Regions from separate parts of the Homo sapiens genome. Here region 2 is linked to region 1. Evidence: promoter capture Hi-C in 16 types of primary human blood cells and fetal thymus (Javierre and others, 2016). All regions are on one chromosome and are shown on one strand. Each heading gives the region's core, a stretch centred on a gene start or on the middle of the fragment in contact. The rest is flanking DNA. Distances are from core to core; before and after follow the strand shown.

Evidence for each region. Contacts are between HindIII fragments. The CHiCAGO score rates a contact against its expected background, and 5 or more counts as called.
Region 2: a fragment that was not itself captured here is called in contact with the fragment with the promoter of BCAP29 in region 1 in 2 of 17 cell types (total B cells and naive B cells); the score reaches 6.5 in total B cells.

The regions. Positions count from the first base shown.
Region 1 is chr7:107,578,237-107,582,008 of GRCh38, reverse strand. It overlaps BCAP29 (B cell receptor associated protein 29), which reads right to left and starts at 1,763. Exons shown (of 8, transcript NM_018844.4): 1 at 1,708-1,763; 2 at 1,145-1,250. The coding sequence starts at 1,236. DUS4L-BCAP29 (DUS4L-BCAP29 readthrough) reads right to left here. Exons shown (of 13, transcript NR_163941.2): 7 at 1,145-1,250. DUS4L (dihydrouridine synthase 4 like) reads right to left here. Exons shown (of 8, transcript NM_181581.3): 8 at 3,486-3,772. RefSeq lists an enhancer at 1,256-1,325 and a silencer at 1,416-1,905. The HindIII fragment of the contact is 6,036 bases long and covers 1-3,772 here.
Region 2 is chr7:107,636,317-107,640,088 of GRCh38, reverse strand. No RefSeq gene overlaps it. Among named protein-coding and RNA genes, the nearest start is that of SLC26A4, 23 kb to the left of the region's middle. RefSeq lists an enhancer at 1,372-1,521. The HindIII fragment of the contact is 654 bases long and covers 1,266-1,919 here.

The DNA of each region.
Region 1 (3,772 bases), core at 514-3,013:
CACTGGACTAAGAGCCAGATTTTTTTCTAGAATCTGTCACTTACCAGCTAGGTAACCGTAGGCTACTTGCCCTCCTGGGTCTCAGTACGTGATATATAGAACATGGGTGGAATGGATCAAATAAGATCAAAGACCCTACAGTATGATTCAATTTTTTTTCTTTAGTAAGAAACAACTTACTGAGCTTAGCTTAGCTGATAGAGAAGGACAGAAGAGAGCAGAAATCCAGGCAGGTAAGGAGCAAGTTAGGAGTTGTGAAAGACTATCTGGACCCTGAGCTAAGGTGAAACTTTAAGAAGTTTCTCCCAGTCCTGGGATTTTAATACACTTTAGTGGGTTATCTCTAGGATCTCACTTATGAAATACTTTCTTTTATGCCAGGAGTATGAACAAATATCTTGCAATATTTTTATTACATGTGTATTTCCCCATTCATACTATCAAATTTCTGGATCTAAAATTAAACGACTAAAAAGTAGATTACTGCAAGGGTAAAATGAACCACTGCTTGGCTTGAAACACTGTACTTGGTTCTTCAAGACCTTAGAAGTTCCGTCACTAACGAACTAATGCTAATACATGGTTGTGATACTTTTCACATTCAGCACTTTTAATATACATTCATTAATTTTATGTGAAATCAAAAGTAGTAAAATTGTCATTAATGAAACTAACGGTTACAAAGGCGAAAACTAAGAATAATTTATTGGCTTTGGTTTCTAAATTGCTGTTCCAGTGCCTCAGTGAAACACTTTTACACCCATGCTGTACTGTAAACATGATTTATCCACTTATATTTATTTAGTTCATGGCTCCAATTCAGGGCAATAAAACAAAGGTAAAACCTGAGACAAGGCAGGGCAGGTGTTAAAAGTATAATCGTTGCTTTATTATATCTGTAATCAACAGAATCAAAAGTATAGGCGCCTTTTCTTTTAGAAGGGAAGAAAAAGTTATTTCACTTGTACACGTAACAGAGTTTTATATAAAATGTTATTTTAATATTGTCATTATATACTACCTAATTCGTTAGGTGAGTTTATTTTCAAAGACTTTCGAAACTTTTTAATGTTCAGAAAACTTTTTCCATTTTACATTAAGAGCGATCCAATATTTATTAGTTAACGATTTGAAGGTTTCCTACCTCTGAGGAGGAATAAAAGGTAGGCAGAAGATTAAAATGAGTCCTATTTCGGCATAAAGAAAGGTTGCCACTGCAGCCCATTGGAGTGTCATTTTTTTCTTCACACCTAAATGGAAAAACACTTATTTTCTCTTGCTTCCTTTCAAACAAAACCGGGTTCAAGGCCCCGAGGCGCAGCGTTTTTGTCCAGGGGATGGACAGTGTTCCACCTTCCCCCACCTGGGAAGGCAAGCACGGACCCCGGTCAGGAAGGGGAAAAGGGTGGCCCGGGAAGCGGGTGTCGCCACCTCCCTGGGAGTCGTGGGAACTGGCGAGGCGGCTCGCTGGCCACTGCCTTTTCCGCCAGCTTCGCGGCGACAGAAGCCCAACGCCTCCCTCCACCAACGCCCGGCTTCCCGGCCCTCCCGCTCCCAGAAGGCGCCGCGGGCCCTCGACCACCGCGCCGCGGACCGGGCCGGGCCGGGTCGGGCCAGGCCAGCTCCGCGGGGTTCTCCAGACCAGGCAGCGGCGCTCTCCCTCCGCGGCCTACGCCCCACGGGTCCCCGGGTCGCAGAAGCCCTTACCCGCCGGCAGCCCGCCTGGCTCCCTGCGCTGCTCCGCGGCCGCCGACGCGCGGGACGTCAGACGCCGCGGCTGGGCGGGGGAGGGGAGCCAGGGCCCCACCCCGCCTCACGCCCCGCAGGCTCCCGCCCGCGGGTCCGTCCCGGCTGAGGTCACAGGCGGCGCGACCACGTTTATTGGCAACAGTTGTTTTCTAATTGGCGGCAGGTCAGAGAATGAGTTAGACTTTTGACCTGATGCTTGGAGGTCGGAGCGCAACTTCTTCAGGAGGACAGACTTTCCACTGCTAAGTGCGGCCCCGGCGGGAGGGTGCCGGGGTCCAGGTCTAAGGAGCGGCGCCGGGCGGCGGGGCTGGATTGGGTGGTGCAAATTCAGCGAACGCGCTTAAGACGCACTCCTTTCCGGTCACCTACTCTCTCTTCATGGTGGGAACTGTTTGTGTCCAGAATTAAGCTATATTTAATAAAGGGCCAGGATGAGGTGGTCGTGCAGCATTTTGTTCTGGAGAACCTAGGATCAACTGTATGTCACAACATATTCCGTAGGCGTTCCCGTTCCCGTCCATGGGCTGGGAAGAGACAGTAAACTTTACCGTGATGTTTGGGGACTGGTACGAAAGGTGGGTATGGGGATATTCTTTCACTATTTTCCAGCTTTTCAAACTGTGCGTGTACATTTAAGTTGTTGAGTTTTTTCAATATTGACAACGTATCAGGAATTTAATAAAAGTACTATCCTGGTAACAATTATTTGGGGAATAGTAAATAAATGTTGAAAATTGATAATTATAGAATATAAAACATTCAAAAACACATTTAAGTTGGTGCTTTTTCTTAATTTATCACTAATATTCTGGATCACATGTAACAGAAAAAATAGAAAAATAGACTTTGAACATAAATTAACCATAAGGAAGATTTTTTTTTTTTTTTTGAGATGGAGTCTCCCAATGTCGCCCAGGCTGGATTGTGGTGGTGCGATCTCGGCTCACTGTAGCCTCTGCCTCCCAGGTTCAAGTGATTCTCTGGCCCCAGTCTCCAGAGTGGCTGGGATTACAGGCGCCTGCCACCATGCCTAGCTAATTGTTGTATTTTTAGCAGAGACAGGGTTTCACCATGTTGGCCAGGCTGGTCTCGAACTCCTGGACTCAAGTGATCTGCCTGCCTTGGCCTCCCAAACTGTTGGGATTACAGGTGTGAGCCACCGCGCCTAGCCAGGAAGTTACTTTTTTTTTTTTTTTTTTGAGACAGAGTCTTGCTCTGTTGCCCAGGCAGGAGTGCAGTGGCGCAATCTCAGCTCACTGCAAGCTCCACCTCCCAGGTTCACACCATTCTCCTGCCTCAGCCTCCTGAGTAGCTGGGACTATAGGCGCCCGCCACCACGCCCAGCTAATTTTTGTATTTTTAGTAGAGACGGGGTTTCACCGTGTTATCCAGGATGGTCTTGATCTCCTGACCTCGTGATCTGCCCGTCTTGGCCTCCCAAAGTGCTGGGATCACAGGCGTGAGCCACCGCGCCCGGCCAGGAAGTTACTTTTAATCAAAAGTGTTAGAACTTCTTGCCCATCCACGCTGGTTCCTTCCAAACACCGAGCACATTACTCTAGTGATGATGCTGTGCTCACAACACTAGGGTAATTCAATTCAGAGTTCTGACCATACCTCCCTATTTTGTACAGTATTCATAGAAAATGAAACAGCGAGTTATCTTTAAAAAAAAAAATGCATTAACTGAAAAGTGAAAACAGAATGTACTGAGAAAAAAGATGGCACCACAGTGCTTATGTTAAAATGGATTCATTCAATATTCCCAAACGTGAATTAAACAGTTTTACATAATTGTTTCCTTATAACAGTTTTCATGTTGGCAAAACAAAATAATACTTTAATTATGAACGGTTTTATTTCAGTCTGAGATACTTAATTCTTGCAGTGCATGCCCACCGATAACAAAATCTATTAATAACACTCCAAAACCATGGGACTTTAAAGTTACAATCAACGGCTGAGAGGCACAAAAGTAATTAGGTTTTAAAGTTAAAAACAAAACCTGGTTACTATTCTCTAG
Region 2 (3,772 bases), core at 343-2,842, 58 kb before region 1:
AGAAGGAGGAGTAAAAGATTTGGCAGTTTTTTTTTTTTTTAATTTAGAAATGGTTTTAGAGGGCTTTTAATTTTCTTCCTGTAGAGGAAGAACTTTGTCAGAGCGCTTTTCAGATGCTTCTAAGTACTGTTAGAAGTAACTCTCCCAATTATTTTCTTTAATTTTAGAAATAGCTTTTTCTAATTGTGCACATAAATAAGCTAATTTAGGTATTTCAAAGATAGCCCACTTTGGTCATTGTTGTTTGGGGTCTTCATGGGTTAAGAAAGACAACTTTTCTAGATATTGACTGGAGGTTGCACCACAATATTATACAGGAATCCAGCTGGAATTTCTAAAGGTGGATCTCTCCTTAAAAAGGAAGACTCAGTTTTAGATGGATGATTGCCCATAATTTGGATTCTCTTTTTAAGTGATCAAAGATGAAATGGGAAAGATGTTTTTGATCTGGTATGTTGCTTAATGGGGATTATTCCTTGAGGTGACACCAGTGAATCACTTCTCTCTTCTTCCCTGTCTTGGTGAAAGCCAGGAATCCTGGGCACTTAAGGCACTAGAAGATCAGCCCTTCATATGTGCCCACCAGGTTAAGCAAGATTTCCTGTGTGTTCTTCTTTGAGAACTCCCTACAGTACTATTGCATGTTAAGAGTAATGAGTTCAGACACTCCCGCAAGACCTTATTAGCCTAAGATGCCTTTTGGCCAGGAGAAACAGTGTCCCTTATCTTTGGTACTTATCTTCATCCTCATAGAAAGCTTTTCTCTCTTTCTTTCTTTTTCTTTCTTTCTCTTTCTTTCTTTCTTTCTTTCCTTCTTTCTTTCTTTCTCTCTTTCTTTCTTTTCTTTTCTTTTTTTTCCTTCCTTCCTTCTTTCTTTCTTTCTTTCTTTTTTTTTTTTTTTTTTTTGGCGGAGTCTCACTTTGTCACCCAGGCTGGAGTGCAATGGTATGATCTTGGCTCACTGCAACCTCTGTTTCCCAAATTCAAGTGATTCTCCTGCCTCAGCCTCTTGAGTAGCTGGGATTACAGGCACATGTCACCACACCCGGCTAATATTTTGTATTTTTTGGTAAAGACAGAGTTTCATCATGTTGACCAGGCTGTTCTTGAATGCCTGGCCTCAAGTGATCTGCCTGCCTAGGGCTCCAAAAGAGCTGGGTTTACAGGCATGAGCCACCGCACCTGGCCATCCTCATAGAAAGTTTTTCTTTTTGGTCACTCAGAAACAAACAAAACAACTTTAGATATGTCAAATGAACCAAGCTTCAGAGTTTAGCCAGGTTTTTTTCTTTTATGCAAATTTTGCTTAAGCCACATTCACTTCCTCTTTTCAGAGAGAGAAACTTTCTTTCCCTGACCAAAATTCAAATGAGAGAAAAAGCTGTACAAATGTTAATGAGCAGTTACAAATAACACTTAACCTTAGAGAAAAGTGAAAACCACAAATCTGTGAACAGAAGAATATCTAGAGAACAGACAAAAACTCTTACCTTAAAGTAGAGCTTCAATTCCAGCTCCATCAAGTGTGGAATTGGGTCACTTGAGTAAAGTCTGATTCTCAACCCAAATCAGGGAGATTCAAAACCTGAGAGGGTCTTCACCGGAGACCCTCTGCTGGCTCCAGTGAAGCCAAGTGAATGAAAACTGTTCATGCTGGTACCAGGATCCTAACTGTGGGCAATGCAGTGGGGAATCAACAGAGGCTTGCTTTAGGTCCTTTCATGGTTGCCAAAATGTCAACTTGAAATAAGCGTCAGAATCTAGTTTGACTTGAAGAGAGTTTATTTTGAATTTTGAAGAGAGTTTATTCAAGTACAAAGTTTGAAGATGGCCTGGGAGACAGATTCCAAAGAATGGAAGTCAGCACTTTGAAGTGTAGAAGTTTGAGGTCACTTAACATAGATAAGGTTTAGAAAGCTTAACAGAATTTCAATATTTTTCTGTATATGGCTGAATGTATAGTTACAGTAATCCAATTAGACAAGGTAATATTTTTCTTTTCAGGAAAGGTCTATTTAACATTCCACACTGAAGATATAAAATTTGGGAGGTAATTAGTGCTACCTTAACTGAGTTAGGTACTGATAGGGTTTGGTTCTGTGTCCCCACCCAAATCTCATAGTGAATTATAATCCCCATAATCCCCATGTATCAAGGGAGGAAACTAGTGGGAAGTGATTGGATCATGGGGGCAGTTTCCCCAATGATGTTCTTGTGATAGTGAGTGAGTTCTCATGAGATCTGATGGTTTTATAAGGGGCTCTTTCCCTTTCATACACTCTCTCTCTCTCTCTCTCTCTCGTCTGCCACCATGTAAGATGTGCCTGCTTCTCTTCTACCATGATTATAAGTTTCCTGAGGCCTCCCCAGCCATGTGGAACTGTGAGTCAATTAAACCTCTTTTCTTTATAAATTACCCAGTCTTGGGCAATTCTTTATAATGGGTGAAAACAGACTAATACAGGTACAAAAAAGGAGGCAGTTAATCTATCACAAAGATCAGTGATTAGAAGGAGGTCTGGTCTCTTGTCTCTCCTCATAATTTACAGAAGAAGAACACTGAAGAAGAGAGTTAATCTATAATCTAAGGAGCAGAAATTACAACTCCATGCTCCATGGCTGAGATCACAGTCACATCTCTCAAGACTTAATGTGTTCTCTGGGGTTCCAAGAGCTTTTAAATTTTATTTATTTTCACATTCTCTATGCCTCATTTTTCTTATCTGAAAATTGGGGGTAATATTACTACTTGCTTCATGGGCTTGCTGCAATATTTAAATGACAAACAGTTCATAATGCAATTAGACCCTAGCACATGGTGAGTGCTCAAGGAACCTTGGCTGCTCTTATCACAAGGATCAGTGTATAGCAGGCATCTAAAAATATGCAAAATAAATTTGAAAAAAGTTTATGGCATAGAAGTAGATAAAGCAATCAGAACCTAGCACATGGTGAGTGCTTATTAAAAAGTACAAGTCCTTTTATTTATTTTTACATATTTATATTTTTGAGATGGGGTCTTGCTATGTTGCCCAGGCTAATCTCCTGGGTTCAAGTGATCCTTCTACTTCAGCCTCTTGTGTAGCTGGGATTACAGGCATATGCAACCATGCTCAGCAGTATGAGTTCTGTTTTTTTTTTTTTTTTTTTTGAGACGGAGTGTCGCTCAGTCACCCAGGCTGGGGTGCACTGGCTGGATCTCAGCTCACTGCAAACTCTGCCTCCCGGGTTTACGCCATTCTCCTGCCTCAGCCTCCCAAGTAGCTGGGACTACAGGCGTCTACCACCACACCTGGCTAATTTTTTTGTATTTTTAGTAGAGACAGGGTTTCACCGTGTTAACCAGGATAGTCTCGATCTCCCGACCTTGTGATCCGCCGCCTCGGCCTCCCAAAGTGCTGGGATTACAGAAGTGAGCTACCTTGCCTGGCCTATGAGTTCTTTTAATAAACAGATTGACTGAGGTAAACTTGGTCACTGTTTTCCACCCAATGACTGTCTTCTTTTCTATTTAGTTTGCCAATCTATCTTACACCTGGATTGTAAGTGATTTGCTGCACCAGTTCAAACTGTGTTTAAGTCATAAAAAGGAAAAGTTTGGAAAACCAAAGTCAGAAATAATTAGCAAGTGAAATTATAATCAAACAGGAAAGGTGTTTAACAAGCGTGAATGAGAGATTCCCAGTGGCATACATCTTATTTAAAATCTTAATTAGAGTTCTGGAAAAGGCAAAGTCATATGCTAAAGTAATGTTAATGTAATTACATTAGA